3 separate regions of the Homo sapiens genome follow, and regions 2 and 3 are each linked to region 1. Evidence: promoter capture Hi-C in human tissues and cell types (Jung and others, 2019). All regions are on one chromosome and are shown on one strand. Each heading gives the region's core, a stretch centred on a gene start or on the middle of the fragment in contact. The rest is flanking DNA. Distances are from core to core; before and after follow the strand shown.

Region 1 (3,361 bases), core at 514-3,013:
TTCTCTCTCTGCTTATTTATTCCACAACACAAACATAAATGGCCCTGCTTTTCATGGTACTTTCAGCCTTAATTTGTTGGTTCTTCACAGGAGGGACTTTGTCATTTAGTGCATTTTCCACTGCAGAGGACTATGTATTCTTACAGCCTCCTATGGTAATAGTACTAATGGTAATGTAATAAAATTCACAATTTGTCTTCAGCTTTGTATTAAGATTCTCTTGGCCATACCTTTCACAAGGCAACTCTTTACACCTTCCAGAAGATGTCCTGTTGGGGTTATAAATGACACTGATTACAGTGCCTCTTACACACTGAGCATCTTGCATTATGCTCAATCAGCCCAGGCTCTGTGCTGACCCCAGACCCTTTTAGAGTATCCAGTTTGGTGTGGTTCACACAAATAATAGTCAACCAAGCAAACGGGGACACAATTTGAGATCAGAATGGTCCACTTCACAACCTCCTGGGGGAAAAGTCAGCAGTATCTGGGGGACTCATGTGAACTGCAGTGGAGTTTATTAGTAAATACTGATTACATAAAGCAGCTAGTCCCACTGCACTTGGATAGAAGCTCCTTCCAACCCACATGGGAGAATATATTTAATACTTACCGTATATGAAACTGTAAGAAAATAAGCTAACCTCATACAGTTTAACTTGGCCAAAATAATAACTATGCAAATCACCTCAAAATTTGTTCTCCTTTTGGCTTGCAGTTGCCGATATACTACACATACAGTAATTGAATAAGAATAAAACAAAATTTTAGAAGCTAAAGAACCATTAAATAGTTACTGGGTCTTACCCGCTTGGGAAATTACAGCAAGATCAAATCTTTTATTAGTCGATCGGTGCTTCCCTGTGGCAGAAGACTAAGAGAATAGAAAGGTCACGGGGCAGGGTGGGACTACAGAACTTCCCCAGACTTTCCCAAAAAGTTAGTATTTTTATTAGAGATGGTTCGTTTTCCACTTACGGCTAATCAGCTAGCTAACGCTCGCTCCTCCTTTTCAAGATGAGAAAAATATCTGCTTGTCTCCAAATTTGAATATTTTACAATTTAAAATGGAAACTGTGGGTGACAGAACACGTTGAGGATCCGACTCAGCACCTCATCCACGTGGGCCCAGAGCGGGACGGTCCGTGTCCGCAGCGGTCTCCTGGGAGCCTTGAGAGCAAAGAAATGGTCTTCTGAGAGCCTGGGCAGATGAGCGGACTTAACTGGCCCCAAGACACACAGTTGGCATTTGTGATCATCTGGCTCTCGCCGAGGACTTTGCCAGTGGCCTAACCTTCCTGCCAAGAAGCTGGGAGGGCGGGGGTTGGGGGTGAGGGGAGGGGGCGGCATAACTGAAAGCACAAAGTTTAGGGAGAGACTGAGATTTCTTTGTGCCCCGCTGGACTGGCGAGGCGTGAGAGAGGAGAGTTGGGGTCCCTCAGAGAGGGCCGTTGGAAGAAGTTGCCTGGAAGGAGGTGGGGCGGGGTGCCCTGGCAGCTGCCCAGCGTTGACGCGGTGACAACTGCAGAAGGTGGCCCTCCTCCAAGCCGTCCCCACGCCTCCCCTCCAACTCCCACCCACCCCTGCCCCCATCCCCCACCACCGCCTGGATCCCCCGCACTTCGCCCGACCAAGGCCGGGGCCGTAGTTTGCATCCGGACTGGATTTGGATGCAGCCAATCCTCCTTTGGCTGATGGAATAGTCTCCCCTCCCCACAGCCCCGGCGCGCCCCTCCCTCGCGCGCCTCGCCGCCTCCCGCCGCAGAACAGGAGCTGCGCGGCCCGGAGCGGCGGCGGCGGCGCCGGAGTATCCGTCCCGCACGCCGGGGCGAGGGGCGAGCGAGCGCGCTCCTCCTCCCGCGCCCTGCGCCCCCGCGCTCCCCCTCTCCTCGCTGCTCGCTCTCCCGTCCCTCCCTCCTTCTCTTCCTTCTTTCCGTGTTATTTTTCTCTTCTCTTTCCCCTTTTCTCTCTCCCTGACCGTTCGCTTGTACATTCCCATTCTCCCCCCGTCGCTCTCCTCTCCCCCTCCCCTCCTCACTGTCACACTCTCTGTGCCCCCGTCTCTCTTCTCTCATTTGCTTGCTCATCTCCGAACGTGAATCCGCGGCTCCCGGAGGAGCCCAGCGCCCGGAGCACCTGGAGTCCGGCCGGCGGCGGGCCGAGCCTGGCCAGCGGCGGCGGCGGCGGCGGCGGCGGCGGGAGCCGAGGGAGCGGCAGCCGCGACCGCGGGCACCGCGGGAGCCCCAGCGGCAGCAGCCGCCGCCGAGATGTCCCGGCGAAAGCAAAGCAAACCCCGGCAGATCAAACGTAAGTTTGCGCGCGGGGCCGGGAGTTGGTGGGATTATTGCCCAGGAGCGGGGTGCGCGGGACGGGAAAGCGGTGGGTGGGTGGCGGGGCTAGGGGAGATCCGCTCCCGGTCCCCTAGATGTCTCAAACTTTGCCTGAGCAGTCGAAGGGACAACTAGACAGTCATAGACAGACAGACGGCCAGCCCGAGCCTCGGGCAGGAGAGAGGCTGCGAGGAGCAGCCCATGCTTGCCCCGCTCAGCCCTCGCGCTCCCGGGCTGCTTTTTTAATTCCGACCCGCGCACGCTGCGAGTCCCCGGCGCTGTCGTCCAGCCGGAGGGGCAGTCCCGCTCCTTTAGACGCTTATTATTGTTGTTGTCATTGCTTTGTGCGATTGACGTGGGACTACTCTTGGGAACCACTTTTAGTAACCAGGGTAGAAACTTCTCAGAAAAGCTGGGCGGTCGAGACCTCGGGGCGAGGGAGGTAACTTCCCCACGCGGTGGAAAATCAGAGCGTCAGGGTCCCGATCCTGGGCGGTGCCAGAGCCACACCAAACCCGAAGCGAAACAAAAAGTAGGTGTAAAAGTTCGCGCCTCTGCGGCGGGCGGCCGTGCGTCTCTGCCCTGCGGGCGCGGGCTGGTGGCTGGCAGGTCGTGTCCTGGGACTTCGGGCGGGTCCGGCTCACGCCGCCAGGACGCTCAGCCGAGCGGGGATTCGGGTGGTGTCTGGCCCTGGTGGCGCGCGGAGTCCTCCCTGGGAGGGGCCGCCAGTCACTTCCCAGCGCGGAAGCTGTGAGTTCAAGGCGGTGGGCGCGCAGGGGAGTGCATGGCCCTGAGCCCCCGGGTGCCCGGGGGTCCCGATGGTGCTTAGAGGACACGGCGGGTCAAGAGACACCTTCCGAAACAGGCACGCTCGCAGAGATCAAGTCGGTCAACTTTTCTTGGCTTGGGGAGAATTCCTCCAATAGCGTTTTATAGGCCTGCGACATATCTTCAACGCTTTGGCCGAAAAGAAGAAAAAACCTTATTAGTTTATTTTTTGCTAGCTTTATGATGTGTCTGTTTCACCGTGT
Region 2 (3,361 bases), core at 376-2,875, 730 kb before region 1:
ACCCCAAAACCTACAGACCTAAGTACACTTGCACCAATATTTTCTTCTTTACCTCTTACGGCAAGAGGAAAAATCCCCTTATCTCTATCAACAGGGCAACCTACACTCCTTTATCTCCACTACTACTACCTTGGTCCAAGCTCCTGTTATCTCTCACCTGGATTACAGCCAAAATCTCCTAACTGATCATCCCATCTCTACTGTTTCCCACTTCACAACAATACTCCACATAGTAGCAAATGTGACTGTTTCAAAACATAAATCACATTATGTCACTTAAATAGTTAAAATAAAACCCAAACTCTTTACCATGGATTCTAAATCCTAGAGTTTCTAAGTATTGCTCTAATCTCATCCTGTCACTCTCCCTTACAACCATTATGTTCCAGTTACAGTGTTTTTAGTAATTTATCTGCAACATACCAGCTCTTTCCTGATCCTGGGCCTTTCATGCATTGTTCTCATATGTAAAGCTTTCTTACCCAACCATAACACAGTTAGCTATGCTTTAGGTCTCATAAACGTCCCTTCATGAAAAAGTCTTCCCCTAATTACTCTGTGCCTGTTACTCACTATCTCTGCCCCATGTCTGTTTCTTTGAGAGCACTTATTACAACTTATTCATTAGACTATAAGCTCCATGAGGGCAGAAACTATGTGCATCAGGTTTTATCTAACACAGTGCTAGACATAAGCAAGGGCTCAATAAATATTTGCTAAATGAACTAAGTGAAGAGACAGCCAGGGTTAGGCTACAATCCTGACTCTACTACTTCATACTGGTTTGACTTCAGTTAAGTCACAATATTTCTGTGTTTCAATGTTCTCTTCCATAAAACAAAAGAAAGAGTACATATCTGACAGGATTGCCAAATAAGACCTACTAAAGATTAATTGGCAATAAATAAAGACTAATCACGCATCTTTCAATGTAAGTATTAAGTACTTGTAAGTAAATAAGTGCTATTAAACTTAATTTAATGTTAGTTTCCTTCCTTCCCTTCTATAACTTAGACAGTAAGAATTCCCTAAGCTAATACAGTATTGAAATAATATATTTATATATACTTAAAAAGAAGAGACTCTGATAACATGTATTTGAATAGATACATTGGTAATTTGTATTTGCAGGATCTAATCCTAAATTTTAGAAAATGGGAATAAATAATGTACATCTATTACTTAACTCTCTCAAAAAGCAGGGAGTGATAAGGAGAAAAGAAGAAAAACAGAAAAGAAAGGTAACCTTAGAAATTAGAGATCATCAACTTCCAATTCCTAAATTTAGAACAACCTTCCTCTTCTTATAAAGACTTGCAGTAAGAACAGGATTAATATCTAAAATAAAAATATTCTATGTTTACTTAAATCTATATAATTCTCACTTATATTTCATATATATTTTTACTGAACTTTCACCCCTTAAATTGTGGTATCACTGGTAAAGTGGGGAAAAAAAAAAGGAACAACATCTCATATCAGAAACACAAAAAGGCCCTCTTGTTCCCTTAATATTTTAATAAGCTTTAAATTTTCTAATTACAAAAGTAAATCTCAACATTTTCTTTAACTGCTGCTCACTTTTCAGGCTAAAATCCCTTTTATGTTCTTCAAAAGAAATTTTACTTTCTAGGAACCTTATAAATCATTTACCATACATCATTCAAATCTCCTCCATACTCTATCTAGAATACAGTTAACAGTGCTTGTTTAATACTTTCTGCCCTGATAACCACCTAGAATTTTGTGGAATGTGCTGCCCACCTTCATATTCTCCCAAGGATATGGATATAATTTAGATTCTGAACTCAAGGAAGGGTTTATGTTAAGCAATTAATTCAATTTTATTCAACACATTTTATGTAATCAAACTTGACTTTGTAAGAAGTAATTGGTATCTGGTTTAGATTTTTCCCTCATGTTCCAGTTACTTCTACAACCTTTCTAAAATTGGAATTTCTTGTCTACCCTTAAACCAGTTATTAAGTGCTACTGAACATTCCATAAAATTCATGGGAAAAGATTCATCCATTACATATATGCAAAGTAAAAAGATTATTTTAGGCTACCACAACATCTAGAATACTACTGTGAACAGTAAAGACTCTTGACTGTAATAAGCTGAAAACCAGTTTAAAAATGAATTTTATCACAAGTCAATCAGTATATGCTGTGAACAGTTCTACGACTATCAAATGCTCTGGCAGCAAGTAACCAAAAATTAACCATCTGCAACTCTTGAAGTTTATTGTAAAATGATATACAAACAAGAAACATTCTAAATTACATTTATTTATTTATTTATTTTTTGAGACAGAGTTTCACTCGTCACCCAGGCTAGAATACAATCGTGCAATCTTGGCTCACTGTAACCTCCACCTTCCTGGTTCAAGTGATTCTCCTGCCTCAGCCTCCTGAGTAGCTGGGATTACAGGCATGTACCAGCACACCTGGCTAATTTTTGTATTTTTAATAGAGACGGGGTTTCGCCATGTTGGCCAGGCTGGTCTCAAACTCCTGACTTCAGGAGACTCACCCGCCTCAGCCTCCCAAAGTGCTGGGATTACAGGCTTGAGTCACCACGCCTGGCCTCTAAACTATATTTTAAGGCTTCATCTTGGGTAGTGTTTTTCAAGCTAAGGACTGCAATTTATTAGTGGATCCAAAATTTATTTAATGAGTCCAGACCAGCAAATGAAGAAGGGAAGGGTGAGAAAGAGGAGGAATAAATAGAAAACATCTGAGTGCACAGGTAGTTAAGAGTACGATTTCATTAACTTTTTTCTCTATGTACATAGTACCCGAAGCAATGTGTATTTTAAGGGTGGGTTTGAGTAAAAGTTAGGAAACACTAATCTGGGAGACAAACAGAAGTGGAAAGGATAAAGCAACGGAACTGTCAGAATTACCAAATTGTGGTTTAGGAGGTGAGCAAGACTAACAGCTTCTATTGACTAGGAGACAGAGGTTTTGGAAACTCCCATAGATTTGTAAAAGCGAGACATCCCTATGTGAAAAATGACAAAGCACTTTTTCCTCTTACAGTAAGCCTAGGACAATGCGTAGCAAAGCTTGTGGTTGTCACCACTGATATTTTTATCCCTTCAAACTTTCAAAGGTGGCAGAGGTCAACCTTTACTCTCTCCTAACTCTTAGGCACATTGAATGCGGTTAAGATACAGTAGCCCCTGAAAGATAATTACAGGTCCTTGAACAACTACTTCTAGAAAACATTATATTCTAGATTACAATTTAGAGTTTCAGGTAAGACTCTGGCATTCAGAAAAGTTAATTTGGAAGTACAACAGTCACATATCAGAGCCCATAAAATCGTCATCTGGAAAGTAGCACCAAAATAAAC
Region 3 (3,361 bases), core at 590-3,089, 510 kb before region 1:
TGCGTGCATTATTTCCTATAATACTAAAAAATGGTTATTAAATTCATACTGGTATCACCTTCAGTGATATTCTGGTAAACATCTAATACCTGCTTCTCTAGTGGGGAAGGGGAACCCTCTGTAGCTTTTGCCAATTTCCTGCAGTGTAAATTTTCTCATTGTGACAGATTTCAAGCTACCAGGTAATGTCATGGGACATGAAATTGGGAAGAGATGCACACAATTCTCTGCTGAGTTTCTGTGAGCCAGCACGCCACCAAGTCTCCCTTTTATTAATGAGGAACTTGGCCTTGGAAAGCTTAAGTAACTCACAGAAGTTCACACAGAGTAAATGGCAGAGTGAGAATTTAAACTCTGGCAGAGACCCTGAAGCCTGTGTGTTTAATTGCTGTGCTGTATACACCAATAGCTGAATCATAATGTTGAAAGGTTGATGTGAACCCAGAGCCCATTTAAGTTCAACTTCTTTTAACAGAGGAGGAAACTGAGTCCAAAAAGCTTTTATTGATTTGCTCAAGGTTAAAAGGCTATTAATTGACAAAGCTGGGGCTATAACCAAATTCTCTGGTCACTGCCCTACATAATGCTGTAGCTTCTTGGTTCTTTTTTTTTTTTTTTTTTTTTGCAAACCTCTTCTACAAAATATTTAAGTAGTTTATCTTTTAATAGAAAAAAGAATCGTGAGGCTCTTTTCCTTTCCACACATTTGGAGTGAAAATTTAATCACCTGGCAATGTAATTTAAGAGCATCAGCCCACTTGGATGTGGTTAATTGTATATAAAATTTCTAAGGAATAGTCATAAAAATAATAACAGCCATAGCAGTCATCATTTGCATAGAACATGTGAATACATTTTACACAAAGGTTATGTCTCTGAAGATATGAATGTGTTCTTATTAATAGGTACATTTACAATTACCTTACAATGTAACTATAAACCAACACTAGTTGCATGACTAGTTGCATAGCTAGTTGCATCACTAGAAATTGAGCCATATTTGGTGACTCCAAAAGCCTACATTTAAAAAGCTGGTCCTGTGCAATTCCAGCTCATTTTAGGGCCAAGTAAATTACACAATTTGCTTTAACCCCAAACTTAACAGTTTAAATGAGAAGGAGAGGATGAAAATAAATTATGGATTGCACATATGTATGACAACCAAAATTTCAGAACTTCTAGTGAAATTGCAAAATACAATTTGGCCAAGTTACCAGCCCTCTCTGGGGCATACAAAATAGTTACCCATTTCAAGAACTGTTGTTAGGAAAAACTAATTAGTGATAGTAATGCTAATTATTACAGTGATGCTTAGAAAAATTCTGAATTTTGAGAAGACTCTAATTCTTGTAGCAATTGAAAATTGAGAACTGTATTACTTATGAGAAGATATGTAGTATGAAAGACATTATTGACATATATTTTTGACCAAAAGTTAAAAAAAAAAAAGCAAATTGATGCTACATGTGGAGCAAGTATGCTGCATGAGGAAAACATTTTTATTTCCTTGATAATTAATGAGGAAAGACTTGCTATTTATTACTTGTTAAAGACTTTATTTCATCTTTCTCCTTAAATCATAGACTATTAAGGATGGAAATAAATACTTCTAAGAGTTATATGTAGAAATTATTAAAGAAAAGTGACTTTCCTTAAGGTGAATGGTTCATTACACTTCTTCGGTTTAAATCTGGCCTATCAGTGTTTCTATAGCACAGCAGGTAGATTTGTGGTCTTAGAAAGGAAATAAGAACTGAGTTATTATTCTCTGTTTTTAGAATGTGCTCAGCATATATTGGGCCTATGGAAATATGATATCCAAATTGACATTAGATTGAAGAAAAGTGTGAGATAAAAATGAAGATCTTAAGTATATGCTTGAATGTTGTAGATGTTCCCAGGGAGAGTCCTTGACCTTTTTTGGAGCTGGCATTTTAAGCCTGGGGACAAATAGTCGCATTTTTGACAGTCATGTGAAGATTGCATTGGGGACTGCAGATGTGAGACCCTTTCTCTGTCAGAACTTAGAATTAAACCCACATCAAAAGCATTGCGAGAAGTGGAAGATCAGTGGGACGTAGTAAAAAACTCTTAATGAGCAGATAGACTGCTCTATAGCCTCTTGATGTGTGTCAACTTAGTCTTGACACAGCCAATTCTCAATTCTCTATGCAAGATAGAATGAGGGTAACAAAGATAATTGAAACCCTCAGATAATCTGCAGGTTCCATTTTAACCCTCAGTTCTAACTGCTTGCTTTGCAAGCCTTCTAGGAGATCCAGGAAACAGTTGTATCTCCTCTCTGATGTTGACTCATCAGCATATCCTGAAAGTGTTGAGAAACTATGAAATAAATAGAAGAGGCTATATCATTCGGGGTCCTGGCAAGAAGCAGATGGTACACTGAGGAGGTGATTAAAAAGAGTTTAAGGAAGGGACCATTTTCAAAGGTATGGGGTGGGGGGGAGCGGGACAAAGGAAGTTAAATGGATGAGGAAACACCCTGGGGTTAGAAACCATCAGAAGCTTCTCCCACTTCTAGGGATGAAGGAGCAAGAGGAGACAGCTGTGAGTAGAACCAGGCAAGACCTGTCTATAGGATAGGAGCTGTGGTTTTTCCACAGGATGACAGCCACTGGCACCCACAGCTCCACAGAACAGCAGCCAGGCCAGGCAGCACCCAAACTCTCTCTCCTCTGATCTCACCCCAGAGGCTCCCAATGGTCAAACCCCTGCGGAAGCCAGAGAGAAGGGGAGGCCTGTTGATGTGGTCCACAGCTGCCAGGGTCCTGGGGCACAGAGCAGGGCAGAGAAGGGTAAAGAGAGGATCTGGAAGGACAGAGAATACCTAGCCCAGAAGGGATGAGGAGAATGGTGGGTCATCCAGTCATGCCCCTGCATTTGAACACAAGACCATATATTTTATTTATTTTTAATTATTTTATTGAGACAGGGTCTTGCTCTGTCTCCCAGGCTGGAGTGTGGAGACATGATCACAGCTCATTGCAACCTCTGTCTCCTGGGCTCAAGCAATCCTCCCACCTTAGCCTCTGGAGTAGCTGAGACTACAGGCACACGCCACCATGCCTAGCTAATTTTTGTATTCTTTGTACAGACAGGGTTTCACCATGTTGCCCAGGTTGGTCTCAAACTCCTGGGCTCAAGCAATCCGCCCACCTCAGCCTCGCAAAGTGTTGCCATTATGGGCATGAGCCACCACGCCCAGTCAAGAATGTATCTTTTAAAAGAGATACTTTTAGAAAGCCAATGAAATAGAAAGTGAAAGAAAACCATATGCTTTAGGAAATGGCCATTTGCATCACATAACAGGTAAATATTCTGTCCAAGAGAAGGGGAGAGA

What was found. Contacts are between HindIII fragments. The study calls those that stand out against the background at their distance.
Region 2: a contact is called between a fragment that was not itself captured here and the fragment with the promoter of ZFPM2 in region 1, in 1 of the 25 tissues and cell types used here (dorsolateral prefrontal cortex).
Region 3: a fragment that was not itself captured here is called in contact with the fragment with the promoter of ZFPM2 in region 1 in 1 of the 25 tissues and cell types used here (heart left ventricle).

What each region holds. Positions count from the first base shown.
Region 1 is chr8:105,316,675-105,320,035 of GRCh38, forward strand. ZFPM2 (zinc finger protein, FOG family member 2) reads left to right here and starts at 1,764. Exons shown (of 8, transcript NM_012082.4): 1 at 1,764-2,307. The coding sequence starts at 2,268. The HindIII fragment of the contact is 7,749 bases long and covers 1-3,361 here.
Region 2 is chr8:104,582,935-104,586,295 of GRCh38, forward strand. The region is part of intron 1 of LRP12 (LDL receptor related protein 12); the gene reads right to left. Among named protein-coding and RNA genes, the nearest start is that of LRP12, 4.6 kb to the right of the region's middle. The HindIII fragment of the contact is 3,889 bases long and covers 1-3,361 here.
Region 3 is chr8:104,803,049-104,806,409 of GRCh38, forward strand. No RefSeq gene overlaps it. Among named protein-coding and RNA genes, the nearest start is that of LRP12, 220 kb to the left of the region's middle. The HindIII fragment of the contact is 4,200 bases long and covers 1-3,361 here.